2 separate regions of the Homo sapiens genome follow, and region 2 is linked to region 1. The links are contacts of gene promoters, found by promoter capture Hi-C in blood cells and fetal thymus (Javierre and others, 2016). All regions are on one chromosome and are shown on one strand. The core of a region is centred on a gene start or on the middle of the fragment in contact, and the rest is flanking DNA. Distances in the headings are between cores, read along the strand shown.

Evidence for each region. Contacts are between HindIII fragments. The CHiCAGO score rates a contact against its expected background, and 5 or more counts as called.
Region 2: a fragment that was not itself captured here is called in contact with the fragment with the promoter of CLCA1 in region 1 in 1 of 17 cell types (total B cells); the score reaches 5.6 in total B cells.

Annotation. Positions count from the first base shown.
Region 1 is chr1:86,465,175-86,472,676 of GRCh38, reverse strand. CLCA1 (chloride channel accessory 1) reads right to left here and starts at 3,750. Exons shown (of 14, transcript NM_001285.4): 1 at 3,544-3,750. The coding sequence starts at 3,705. The HindIII fragment of the contact is 8,280 bases long and covers 2,394-7,502 here.
Region 2 is chr1:86,648,075-86,655,576 of GRCh38, reverse strand. All of the region lies in intron 4 of CLCA4-AS1 (CLCA4 antisense RNA 1), which reads left to right. It also overlaps the pseudogene CLCA3P. Among named protein-coding and RNA genes, the nearest start is that of CLCA4-AS1, 53 kb to the left of the region's middle. RefSeq lists an enhancer at 6,771-7,502. The HindIII fragment of the contact is 863 bases long and covers 3,836-4,698 here.

The sequences.
Region 1 (7,502 bases), core at 2,501-5,000:
CACCTAATTTTACTTCTCTAAAATGAAATAGCTGCAGCGTTAAATTATAAATGTGTCTGCAGATTCCCTGTGATATGTTATGACGAGAGAGTAGGGAGAGTGATAGAAGATACTGTTATAGAAAGGGGGCAGTGTATCTGTTAGGACTGAAAACCATTTGCTTCGAAAGTGAGCATAGACAGAGGAAAAAAGAGGCTGAAGACTGAGCCCAGGGAATGTGGGGGACCCCAGCATTCAGAGGTAGAAAGAGGAGGAGCCAATACAGGGGCCTCAGAAGGGCAGTCAGTGCCTGCAGAGGAAATGAGGAGCTGTGGGATGAGAGAGCTATAGGGAGGAGGGCGTGATCATCGGTGTCAAGCACTGCTGAGCCATCACTTCATATGAGGACTAAGAACTGATCACTGGACTTGGCAGCATGGTGAGCCCTAGTAGTGGAATAAATACAGCAGCTCCGTAAGAGTGGTTTCAAGAAAGTGGGAGGTGAGGCAGTGGAGACAGTAAATACAGACAACAACAGGTTCAGAAGTTTTTCTGTGAACTAAAGGGGAATGGAGAAATAGGCAGCAGCTGGAAGTGGACTTCAGGACAAGACAGTTTTGTTTGTTTTAATATTATATTATAAAATATTTCTATGCTAATGAAAAAAAAAACAAAAATGTAAAAGAAAAAGGGGTCATTGCAGGAGCAAAGTCCTTGCGGGAACAGACCAGAGTGACTAGACTCCATTGCCTAGTGGGGGTCGTGTTAGGAGCAGAAATGCTTCACCATTTTATGGGGAAGCAGCACTTGGGTGTTAGTGCACGGGTAAGTCCTGCTGTGCCTCTTCCTAAGGGGTAAACTTAAAGAACTTATTTTACTTCTCTGAGCCTCAATTTCTCCCTTTCAAATAGTGATAATAATGGTTGCCTCTATTTTTTTAAGTGTTCTTAATGATTTACATTTTCTCCTTCTAAAACTCCCAGATTTTTAACACTCACTAGGAGAGTTTAATATTATGTCACTTTAAAAAATAAAATTAAAAAATGAGCCAAGATCACCAAAAACTTGAAAAGTAGGTATAAAACTTCATATATTAGAGTATTGTTTTACCATTTGACTTGTGAAATGTGAATTTCCAATGTCTCCCAGGAAGAATAAGTACCATGAAATGCTCTTGTCTTCCACATTGTAATAGAAACAATAATAAGGGATCTTTGTTTTGGCATCTGTTTCAGATTTTCAGAAAATGACCTCATATCCTAATACATATTTAGACTCTTAGGCTGAGAGAAGGTTGGGGGTGACAGTTTATAGAATGGGCTAGAAATTCCTTCAGGACAGGGACAGTATATTGACCACTGGACTTCTAGTACCTGACATAATTTAGATGCTCTGTAAATATTTGTTGAATGAATAAACAAACAAATGGATAAATAAAGTGGGTTTAGTAAATGGCAAAGTGGTATAGAACTGCCAAGACAGGCACAGTGCCTGGGGTGCTGAGCATTGCAGAGACTCCAAAATAACCCTACTGTGTACCTTCTGACGTGCGTGTGTGCGTGTATGTCTGCGTGTGTGCATGGGCGTGTGTGTGTGCACACGAGCTTGTGCGTGTGGTGTGTGTGTATGTATATTTGACGGGGGAAGAGAGAGTTTCTCTCTGACTCTCCCTTCCTCATCTTGTGACGTGTACTCCCCCTGCTAATATTAGCAAGAATGCAGTGGATGGAAGTGGTGCAGAGCGATTAACTGCTCTTGTAGGTGGGGAAATCTGGGGACTGTCCTGCTGAAGCAAATATTTTAAAAGCTGAGTTAGGGGCTTCTGTCCCCACAGGGGCACCAGGGGAGAGTCTCTCATCAGCAAGAAGGTTGTTGGAGTAGAGGGAGGAATGGTTGGGAAAGGTGGCCAAGCCCTCAACGAGGTCCCTCAACTCTGCAGATCTGGAACATCAAATAGGAAGGAGTTAGGGACTTTGAGCATTCTATTCACTAAAGTGTTCTTGTTACAGAGAAGGAAATGATGGAAGCCAACTTATCTCACCCCCAACTTTAGGATCCATACTGGAAAGACAATTTAATAATTGTAGCGAGAAGTACGTATCTCGGGAGGAAAACCTCCAAGGACAATGAAGTAGAAGCACTTTGAAAGCTCTAGTCACTATATACTGTAGATACAAATTACCACGGTCACTGAAGATGAATACGGCATCTACATTCTCCTTCTGGCATATTGCTGAACCCCACTGTCTAGCCAGAGACTGAAACACACTGGTCACATGTTTGCTGATGCCACTTCCAAATTTAGAAACAATCAAAAACTCACTCAACATTTTAGATGATTGAGAGATTCAAGAGGTCTGAATCTCCCTTTTACCACAGACAGCCTGATCCTCTTTGGGTTAAGTAGGTAAGCTTTATGGTGAGTGACACCCTCCACTCTGTTCCCTATCCCTATCCCCTACTGCTGCAATTCTCTAACCACACACTGTAGAGATGGTTTTCTTTCCAAACATTATCTTTCTATATTTGCCTCTGCTTAGAGCAGTGGATCTCTGGGGAAATCCCTCTGGGCCCTTGTTCTATTAATTTTCCATCTAGAGAGAGCCAATGACTATATCCACCATTTATTGAGCTCTTACTATGTACCAGGCACTATGCATGCATTTTTAAAGTTATTTTTTAAAGTTCTGAGATAAATTTAGATGAACAGAAGACATGCAAAGTATTGCACCGTATTCTTACATACTCCACCCAGCTTCCCTTTATATGCATGCATTTTAAACTTTGATCCTCACAAAATCTGATAAGGGAGATATTTATTATTATTATTCCCATTTTACAGACTAATACTGTTACTAGTACAGCACTGCCTCTGGATGTGTTACAGCCAGATTCCAGGGCGGTCTTTTATAAAGCATTTCCCTCTTAGTTTTAGCTGTTTGTTGTTGTACAAGACCTTCTTCAATGGTATAGATACCCCTGCCAGGACAGGAAGTCTTCTTCCTTTCCCTTCTGCTACATAAGAGGTAGCAAGAAATCTCTGAAAGGATCCCTTGAATTGGGACTGATAAAATGCAAGGTTTTCTCCCATCAGAAGGTCAGGGTTGTTCTTATATCAGAGATTTGCATCTGGGGCTCCTTTTAGGATCACAGGGAAGGGGGTTCCTATTAGGAGAATAAAAGGAGAGTCTGACTCGTGCCAAGGGTAAAATCAGGCAAAGGATCTGTGCATCTCACAATATCTGTCAAATGTAGCTGACTCTGCCTTACTATAGAACTAAATAATTTTCAGTGACATAATCCACAGCAGTACATATCAATTTATCATTTATCAGTTGCCAACAGTATATCACTCTGAGTTATGTGCATTGCATTCATTATCTTATCTGACACAAGAATCCTAATGGTTAACTTGTTATTATTTCCATTTTACAGATGAAGAAACTGAGACTTAGACATAAAAATACATGCCAGTGTCGTGCAGCTGGAATAGGGCACTCATGTTCTCTCTATCACAACATTATGCTATTTTTAAAAAAGTATGGATAATTACTATGAACTTACCTTTATTTGTTGAATGAGTGTTTCATCTTCTGGCACATTGGGGTCGATTGCAACGACAATGCCTTCATAGCCATTGTTGTTCAGCTGAATGAGTGAATTACTCAGGGCCCCTTCTAGAAGGTGAAGAATCAAGATGAACACAGAACTCTTAAATGGCCCCATTGCTGTACATCTCCCTGTGATTTCTCTCTTTGGAAAATGCGGGTTACGAAGGTGTCTTTCTTTACCATTATATATATACAGATATGAAAATATAGACACACGTTTCCAACTTATCGGAAGTGGTTTATCACAGGTCTTTAACCCCCTGACCTGATGTGTTTTACTATTGCTCTTGTCTTCAATAGGAGAATGATAACAATATCTTAGTCTCAAATTGCGTACTTGTAAATATTTCCATCTGCCTTCAGCTGTGCCAGATGCTGGGGTAAGGGTGGGGGAGCCCACATCCGGTTCCTTGGAAGCACTCACAGGTGACAAGCAGCTTGGCCGCTGATAGGTTTGTTTACTTCTTGGAAATGTTTACCAAGCCATGGACACCAACCCACCCAAAGCCCCCAACCCCCTCCTGCCCAGGAAAATCCAGACTGTTCTGCTTATTCAGTAAACATTTTGTAAGCCATATATTCAGTTATCCCTCATGGTGGTCTTTACCACAATGGTGGTTTTGTTTACCTTGACATAACCTCAACACCTCTTCATGCTCCCCTTAAACAAGAAAATATTCAATTATATTCCACATCCATTTGTACCAAAAGCATTAGCAAGTGATGTAGATATTATTGACTATTTTATAATGGAGAGTAAAGATAAAATGTATATCTTACTTTGCAAAGCATACTCCAAGTTCCTCATCAGATTTCTGCTTTCTCTATTGCATAGCTCCTACCAGTCAATAAAATTCCAATTAACATCATTAAATTATTTTGCTGAAACTAAATGTCCCTAGGAACATGAATTATGGGCTGTCAGTGGCTGTGTATATTCTTTCAATTTGCCAAACCTCAGGTGGAACCTCAAATTGGCCCCCCATTTTCTTGTATTGAAATACTTGAAATATCTCTTCGTTCATAAATTCATTTGGTCTTCAGATGGTGATAAGCATTAATTTCATCTTGTCCATATGAACTTTAAAGTAGTTTTTTCCAATTCTGTGAAGAAAGGCATTGGTAGCTTGATGGAGATGGCATTGAATCTGTAAATTACCTTGGGCAGTATGGCCATTTTCACGATATTGATTCTTCCTATCCATGAGCATGAAATGTTCTTCCATTTGTTTGTATCCTCTTTTATTTCCTTGAGCAGTGGTTTGTAGTTCTCCTTGAAGAGGTCCTTCACGTCCCTTGTAAGTTGGATTCCTAGGTATTTTATTCTCTTTGAAGCAATTGTGAATGGGAGTTCACTCATGATTTGGCTCTCTGTTTGTCTGTTGTTGGTGTATAAGAATGCTTGTGATTTTTGTACATTGATTTTGTATCCTGAGACTTTGCTGAAGTTGCTTATCAGCTTAAGGAGATTTTGGGCTGAGACAATGGGGTTTTCTAGATATACAATCATGTCATCTGCAAACAGGGACAATTTGACTTCCTCTTTTCCTAATTGAATACCCTTTATATCTAGCATAATCTTAAGCAGTTAAAAGGGAAACACTGAAATAGAGTGGAAATGCTCAATTATAATGTGGTTGTCCAGATGATCCAAAATATGCTTTTATATCAAAATACATATACATTTATTATTCATACAAAATTTAAAAATGTAGATTCCAAGATATCTCAGACCCCAAATGTATGTGTCTTTGCCTGGGTTCCCTAAAAAACAGAGCCTAAGGCAGGCATATGTGCTAAGAGTTTGAGAGTTTAATCCCAGAGCAGTGAGAATGAGGGAATGGGGAAATGAGTCAGGGAAGGCTGGGAAGCAACTAAAGGAGGAGCATTACTAAGCCCTGCAATGGAGACACCCAGCAGGCCAGCCCACAGGCGCCCTTGCCTTCCTGTGTGGGTTGTCTCCTAAGGGGCTGTGCAAAGAAACCACGCCTTGGAGCAGCCCTTTGGAGAGAGGAAGGAAAAGCGTTTGGCTCCTTCTCATCTTCTACAGGTGATCATCTCCCCCCAGACTTCCTGGCTGTGTCATCCAGCCCTTTCGGCAGTCGCTTAGAAAGAGAGACCCCCATGCCTTGTGGTATGTGAGGAGCCAGGGGTTACAAGAGGTGGCAGCTTGACCTCAGGCAGTGGAACTGCTTGGACCTGCAAGGAGTGGATAGTGACTGAGGTGGAGCAAATGACTGAGTGCCCGGTAGACAGATGGAACCAAGCAAATCTGAGGAGGTTCAATAAGAAGAGTCTGATACAGTTCACTCTGAGCTGCTCAGATTCACTCTAGTACTTTCATCATATCAAGCTCCAATATTATAATGTAGGATTTGTGTTTCTGTGTGTGTGAGCACTAGCTGTCTCACTTTTCCCCTGAGAGAAGGTACAAGTTTAATCATTTACAGAATCTCCTTCAAAGTGGTGGTCAATTGCAATCTGCTCAAGTGCATAAGGCAAGAAGGTTATTGAAATAAATTGCAATGCCTGCTGTTACAGCTGGTCTCAAGGCTTTTATAATCTCCCTCCTTTATCACCTATTTCCCTCACTTTTACTCAGCATTTTGGTTGATCTGTATTGTTTGTTCTCTTGTTGGGGTAATCCCACCCTTCATCCCTGAGTGGGGTCTTTAGTTGTCCTGCCCTTGTTGGCTGCAGCTGCTGCATTTCCCTATGACAGAGGTCATCTGGTGTGACAGACTCAGTTTAAGTGCTCTCCAAATTTGCTTGGCATTCCCTGCAAGCTGGGTCTTGGCTGCTTGCTCAGTGGAGAGTCCTGGCTGCTGCTAAAATTCACACATCTCCTAATACCAGTGTTTCTTCTTAGCTTTCCCCAGGAAGAGGGCCTAGTTTAGCATGGCCTTCACTGTGCAGATTGTGGGGGCAGCTCCTCCATTCTCTCCCGTTCCCAAGTCTGGATTGAATGGATGTGTGGAGGCTTTTGGCTCAGATAAATCACTGCACCATGGTACTGGGATCTGGCTTTGTCAGAGGCAGCCCAAATGGGCCAAATAACAGAAACCAGAGATGCAGGGAGTTAGCACCCTAAGGGACAACCTTTCACCAAAGAATATTTCCAGCATTCTAGAAGTTTCCTTTGCATTCCCTTCCAGTAAATCCCCCCAAAAGATAATTGCTATTCTGACTTCTATGCCACATAGGTTAATTTTGCCTGTTTTTGAACTTCATATAAACAGAAATATGCTGTATGTACTCTTGCATTTCGCTATTGTGACATAACATTTTCTATATGAGATTCAGCCAAGTTGTTGAATGTAGCAGTAATATGTTCTTTTTCCATTCCATTCCACTGTAAAAAATACTGCAATTTACTTACCACCCACTCTTGATGAACATTTGGACTATTTCCAGTTTGGGACTATTATGAATGAAGATGCCATAGATGTAAGCATTGATTTCAGTTGCAAATATACAAAGAGTGACATTGCTGGGTGACAGGGTATACATCTATCTAGTGACAAAGACTCCCTCCTTTGACCAAAACTTAAGTCAGGATCCTGAGTCTTCTCTGACTAGGTCTGACCTTGGGCTTCCCTCTCTGTCCTTGCAGAATCCAGTTTGAGCAAGAATCCTGCTAAGTCAGTTTAGGGAAAATCCCCACGTTTGGTATCTGACCATTCTCAGCATCTTTCCACCATGGCCTGCCTTCAGCAATAACCCTATCAAGTCAGTTTAGCCAGACATTCCTTATCCTTGATGTTTCCTCATAGGCATTTTTCATCCACTGACCCCACCCTTCTCCTTGGTTATAAATTCCCACTTGTCCTTATTGGAGTTGGAGTTAATCTACTTTCTCTCCCCAACTGCAAGACCTCCTTGCAATGGTCCTTGTACCTATCACCATGCCTC
Region 2 (7,502 bases), core at 3,018-5,517, 180 kb before region 1:
TGTGGTATTTTTTTAATGTAATGAGGTCAAATTTGGATTTTTTTGAAGTTATAAAAGTATTCACTAAGTTATTTAAAAAATATTTATTGAATATCTTCTATGTGTCAATTATTATTCTAAATGCTGAGGATACAGCAATAGGAAAAAGAAAAATCCCTGTCTCAATCAAGCTTCTTGGTAATAGTCTTAGGACCTAATGATAGCATCAGCACAGAAATAATTTTATTGTGATGTTCCACAATTCATACAGAAAATGATATTTGCTAGTCATTTCGGGCCTAGGGCTAAAATCACTTTTAATCAATGACAAAAAACAAATATACCACTTATAATCAATGATAAAAAAACAAATTTGACTTCCTTACTACTACTACTAGTCCTTTTTGATTACAGCTTATATAAACATGAAATATTCATTTGTAATAAAAAATGCGATACAAATAAATCTATAAAACTATTTGCTACTATGTATATATAAATATTTTTTAAATGGCTTGGATACATTTTGATGTTAGTACACCAAATGAATTTGTAGCACACTTTAAAAATGTTTCTTAAAATGCTTACAAGTACAAATATATATCTTTTCATATTAAAAATTAATGAGTGGATTATTCAAAGACAGGAAATGATATACTCATTTTGATTAACATTTAATAACTCAAATAGTATTAATTAATCAAGTAATTAGGAAACTTACAACTTTTGTACTTCACTTTTATATTATAATGAGCTTTATAATAGACAATAAGTATAGTAAATTAAATTTTAAATAAATGTTTACCAAGTATGTATAACATTGAATTTGAGTTCTAATATAATTTCTAGTTTAAAATATAGATAAAATTACAGCTAATCCAAAAATTGCCAAACTGATTGCAGAAATATTGGTACCCAGATCAGGAATGCTGGGTTCCTGTGGAGGAATAAAGTTAGTTGCTTGTGCAATGTTTGAAACCTCTGAGGTGACATTGGCTTCATGGATGGCTTGAATTGCAATATAGAATGTCGTACCATTCTCTATTTTAGAAGGTTCTGGTTTAAATTCAAAACTTTCTACTGAACCAGGCTCCTTAGGTATCAGACCAGAAGTATTTATTAAAGCAGCTTTATCAAAATCTTCTTGGAGGTCCAGGAAATGTTTACTTATTCTTATAATGTAGCTCTCAGCTGGAAAACAAATAGATACTTCAGATATATTAAAATCACTAGGATGCCTTGCTACCACCACACTGCTTTACATTTAGAAACCTATCAGAAATGCACACTAGGTTTTAGTTATGGAAATCCCATTAGTTTTTGTCTGGTTATTCCATCTTTATTGTAAGGACAAATGTGTGAACAGTTTTTCTTAAAATGTAGAGTTCTCTAATCCCAGGAAATTTTAATTCAAAATCATATGGTACTAAAAAGTCAGACTCTGGTGTTTTCCTTTTTAGGGAGAGAAATATAAGGAGCTGGATCTACTTTTTAATTTAGAACAAGGAACATAATAGTATTGTAGTATAGCGAAGATATTCAGTACCCTATATCTGTGTCATTTCTTATTAAGTTAAAATAGGAAGTAATAGGACAGGGGAGAAAGAGAGATGATAAATGGAGTGGGAAACAGGGATAAGGATAACCAGCAAAAGGAGGCAGAGAGACTGGAATGTGTACTAATTAAACACGTGCTAAGCAGAAAGACAAACATCGCAAGTTCTCACTTATTTGTGGGATCTAAAAATCAAAACAATTAAACTCATGGACATACAGAGTAGAAGAATGGTTCCTAGAGGCTGGGAAGGGTAGTGGGGGACTGGGTAGGAGAAGGTGGGGATGGTTAATGGGCACAAAAAAACAGTTAGAAAGAATGAATAAGACCTACTATTTGACAGCACAACAGAGTGACTATAGTCAATAGTCAAAAATAACTTAATTATACATTTAAAAATAACTAAAGGAGTGTAGTTGGGTTGTTTGTAACATAAAGGATAAATGCTTGAGGGGATGGATACCCCATTCTCCATGATGTGATTATTTCACATTGCATGCCTGGATCAAAATCTCATGTACCCTATAAATATATACACCTACTATGTACCCACAAAAATTAAAAATTTAAAAATATGAAAATAAAAAATAAAAGTAAATATGTGTTAAGGACCTAGACAAACCTTGAGTAGCACCCTAATTTTACTACTTGCTAGCTGTGTCATAAAAAGAAATTTATTTAAGATATCTTTTCTTTTTTTTTTCTTTTCTTTTCTTTTTTGAGACAGAGTCTTGCTCTGTCGCCAGGCTGGAGTGCAGTGGTGCCATCTCAGCTCACTGCAACCTCTGACTCCCTGGTTCAAGTGATTCTCCTGCCTCAGCCTCTCGAGTAGCTGGGATTACAGGCATGCGCCACCATGCCCAGTTAATTTTTTTTTTTTTTTCAGTAGAGAAGGGGTTTCACCATTTTGGCCAGGATGGTCTCGATCTCCTGACCTTGTGACCCGCCCACCTCGGCCTCCCAAAGTGCTGGGATTACAGGCATGAGCCACCGCACCCCGACTTAAGTTTCCTTATCTCTAGTTTTTTATCTGTTAAAATAGGGATTCAGTTATTCAAATCATTCAACAAATATTTATTGAGTGCCTACTATTCTAGTGGTAAGAATCATAGATGATAATGCATGAAACATGTTCACTACAATTTAATAAATGGTAAATTAATAAATGTTTGAAATATTGGCTGTTATTTTATCAAGAAAGGAAAAGAAGATGCCAACATAAATGTTTCTTTCTACACTGCTTTTTGATATCTACCATTCATGTAGAAATATATTCTCACATTCTGAAATGTGATGAAAAATAAAACACCAGATTTTTTTTGGAGTAAGGACTTTATTTTTAACTTTTCCATGAAATATTGAAGGTATTTCAAGTGTGTGGTGAATAACTTTTAGTGTATTTTTAAAAATAATTCAGATCCTCTGCTTAACATTTAGTTTCCTTTTAAATAGGCCTTATCAATCCGTTCTACTACTCTTCACAAAAACCTTGTGTTCCACTTACGTAGGTCTCTCTGTCTCTCTTCTCTCCACCTATTTCTTATTTTAATTAGAATATTCCATTGTGAAATTTTGCTTTCTTGACCTTGATCATATAATTTTGTTCTTTCTCTCTCCAAAATGTACCTCCTTCTCCCTATATATGCAAATTGTACTCATTCTTTAAGGTCCAACCAAGCCCAACTGCATGAAGTTCCGTCCAAGTATTTCATTCACCCTGATGACTCTCTTTCATGAACTTCTGTTTCATGGAGTGGAGTTTTTCAGATAGTTTAGTAGAGGTTCAACTTTTCATTCTGATTAGATCTTATTATTTTTGAGGGTAAAGACTATGTTTTTTACTCTTTGTATCACTCAGGGTACCTGGTCCTGTGTTGACATGTATTTGATCTCCTTAATTACTTGGCCAACAATACAGTTGTTAAGTTGACACCCAAAATGATAAAATTAGAAAATCATAAAAAATTTGAATTATATCTACTTGTTTTAGTAATTTTAGGTAATCTAATCTAATTTGTATATTTGACAGGTGAGGAAATTGTGTCCCAGGTAATTTAAGTGCTTCATTTGAGATTATATAGACGTTCATTTATTCTTTAAGATACTGCTACTATCTTACCTTTGGAATATCTACAGGTAACATTTAACAGGTACCAATACCTCTTCCTATTTTTCCTAAGGAAAGACAAAGATTAGATGCCACCTATTTTAGGCATTTGTGGTTATACATTACTCCTACTTTTAGTTCTTATAATCAGCATGAGGGATATTTATTATGAACCCAATCTTGAACTGAAAGCTTGGTTTTTACTGAATTCACTATAGAACTAAATATTTGGTTAAGAAATTTCATTTGTGGCTTTTTCAGTGGCAATGGTATTTTTCACTTTTTTTGATTCTGCCATATGTTTAAGGGTCATAGCATGAGAAAATAAGGTATGCAAAAAGCTGTCATGATAAGATTTTCAACATTGAAATACAAAAGCTCTGTTTGTGCATATTCTGTTTCCTCTGACTTTAGAATGATATTCTCCTTGTATAATAATGATAATAAGAAATGCAGCTTTTAAAATGCTATATAGTGAGTGAAAGATTAAGAAGCATCTTTTCTTTTGAGAGTGTACAATGGGGTTTATTGTAATCCAGGAGAAAGAGTACTGGAACACTGGTGTTTTAGCACTGGCAATCTCTGAGCTATTATGTATATCTAAATTGCATATTGCTTTCATTTTCCCAATCTTAAAGGGAAAATAGCAAGACTGGCGTTATCCCATAAAAATCTACTAACCTATGTAATACTGGAATATGGTAGGCATTCAATAAATACTGATTGAATTCAGTTAAATTTCAAGCAATGACAGAAGTAATTTAAACTTTTTGGAGTGAGGGTCATTTATCATTAGGAACTTTGAATAAATGAGATCTTTTGACCTTGAACTTTATTCAAACTCCATGAACAAATCTTTCAAACTAGTGAATTTCTGTGCACATGAACATCTCTCTCTGTGGACACCTTCACTTATCTTGGGTAACTACTCTCATTCTTCAATACTCAGTGATAGTCTTCTCTGGGAAGGCTTTACAATATACTCTGATTTTAACCTCTAACTAGGGGTTTGTGGCCCATCTATGGGTTGCCACATAATTCTCTGTTTATAAAAGCTTATGTCTTATTATACTTTATGTAATTATCTGTTTACTTGTGTGTCTTCTGTACTTAATTGACTGTTGAGAGTATGGATCATTTCTTAGGATTCTAATAGTGTGAAAGCTCAACAGAAGGTTGATAAATGAATGAAACTGTGCAAGTACAGAAATACTTAAAATTTGGGGAGAAGATAATGCAACAGAAAGCTGTTAACTGTCCTCTCAAAGTAATTTCTAAGCTGCTTCAATTTCTGACAGATAGTTTGGCATAACAGAATCTGACATGACTGGGTTAGAATTGTAAGTTACTAAATATAGAAATAACTTGGTCCAATCAACTCTTATAGCTTTAGTTTTCACATCTGAAAATAATTTAAAAATGGCCTATAGTAGACACTTCATAAATGTTATTTATAAATGGGCCATTAGAAAATTCTTAGCAAATGAAAGCCAATGGGATTTCTTTTAGTATATTTTAAAACGTAATGTCAAACTTACCTCTTCCTTTATCGAGGACCTTGCCAGGGGCAGTCCATGAAAGTTGAATATGATCTCCTTGAAACTTAGCCTCGAGGTCTACAATTTTACCAGGTGAGAACACCTGAGAATGATTACCATTAGGAGGCACTCCTGATACAGTAAACGACCCTCCAGAGATGAGTCTGCTGAAGTCGTCTGTTTGAGCTCCTTCCACATCATCTGTGACTTCAGGTTTGGATGGGTTCAGTATAATTTTTCCTACCAAGAAAAAATTTTGTAATATTTCATATTGCCATGTCTACTCTTTTATTTTATTTTTTATTTTTTTTGTTTTGTTTTTTGAGATGGAGTCTCGCTCTGTCGCCCAGGCTGGCTGAAGTGCAGTGGCGTGATCTCGGCTCACTGCAACCTCCGCCTCCTGGGTTTAAGCGATTTTCCTGCCTCAGCCTCCCGAGTCGCTGGAACTACAGTCGCCCGCCACAACGCCCAGCTAATTTTTGTATTTTGGTAGAGACGGGGTTTAGCCATGTAGGCCAGGCTGGTCTGGAACTCCTGACCTCAGGTGATCCACCCTCATCGGCCTCCCAAAGCGCTGGGATTACAGGTGTGAGCCACCGCGCCCGGCAGCGGTGCCTATTCATCTTGCAAGCTGATCTTGCAGCTGTAGAGGCTTAATATTGATTGGCAGACATTGAAAAAGTAACAGTTTTTACTGAGAAAACACTTGTTTATTCATATTTTAAAATTGATGAGGAAACATTATGCTATGTTAAAACTATCTTTTAACTTCTCTGTCTCTACTACTTGACTGCAAATTCTTTGAGGAACAGGATTATGTTTTGTCTTTGTAGCTCTAGCACCTAAGCACAGTGCTTGCAACATAGTAGGTGCTCAGTAATTTTTTTTTCAATGTAAATGAAATGAACTCAGGGAGATGTGAACAAAATATGTGGAAACATAGGTCTATGCTAGGTCTACTAATATCAACATGGTTTTGAAACATACAGATGATTACAAGGTTATATACTTGGGCTTTCTGTAGTACATTATATTTTCAATGTTTGCCGTATGGAATTTATCTAAACAAGTGACACATTTCTATTTTAGTGCTACTTACCATTTTCAGCATAGCGCGGTACATACAGAGCTTTATTCTGTTGTTGACTTAGCCTAGCTGTGTTTTTTCTTGCCTGGGTAAGCACTTTTAAACTGTATCTACCATTTCCATGGTAATCTGTAAAATACCTTGAGTAGATGCCATCATTCTTGACAGAATCAGCACCTTGATAATGAAATGTAAAAATTAGTCATACAATAAAGTAAAAATGACAGTCATATCTGTTTATGAACACTGATAATGTTAGTAATTTGGGAGATAGTATGTAGCACAGCGTTTTAAGTACATGAATTCTGGAATCAGACTATTTTGGTTGAAAGCTTGGGCCACTTGCTAACTCTGTGTTTTTGGAAAAGTCTAATTCATGGAAGGGATTCAATTAATATTAGCTGTTACTATTATTTCATAAAAAATACTTATCAAAATAAGAAAAAGCAACTGAAGAAAGCATATATGAAACACTGACATTAATGAAAATAGAGAAAAATTGTGCTCTTAAGTTCCATGGAAAAAGCAAAATTGTTCATAAAATTTAAAAATGGCATAAGTGCTATGTCTATGAGTTGTCAAGATAACTGAGAAAAAAGTTTTTAAAACATTAGGATTAAATTTCATTTACTTAAAAATATGATTCATTAGCAAATACAGGAAATATTGACTTCTAGGTCATAGAACTGTAGGAGGATTTTAAGTTTAGTGGAAGTTGATGTAGATTCTTATTACCTGCGCCATTGTCCCAGAGCTCCAATGTTACTTGATGTCCCTCTTCATTTTCTATAATGGCTGTTACATTGATTCCCAGAACAGGAAGAAACCCTTGACTGACTCATGCATAAACAATCACTGGGCTAGGGTAATGAGCTGTATTTTGACTCATGTGAGCAGTTGCAATTACTGGGAGTGTGGTAGGGCTTCTTGCTCGAGTGGTCATTGTCACAGTTAGCAATTGAGATTTGGTATGATTGTTTCGAACGCTGTAAGTCCAAGTGCCTGTCTGAAACATTAAAAAAAAATCTGTCTGAGAGCTTTGGTAATATTTTCCTACTTTTTGTTTGGAATACAAAATTATTTACAAATTTAAGCAGAATAATAATCATGATTTTTAATATTGAATTTCACAAACTAGTAAATAGTATGAATATGAATCCCTAATTATTCCATTTGATTTCTTTATTACAGATGATCTGTCATCATTTTAATATTGGCAATGTATAAGATGTTATC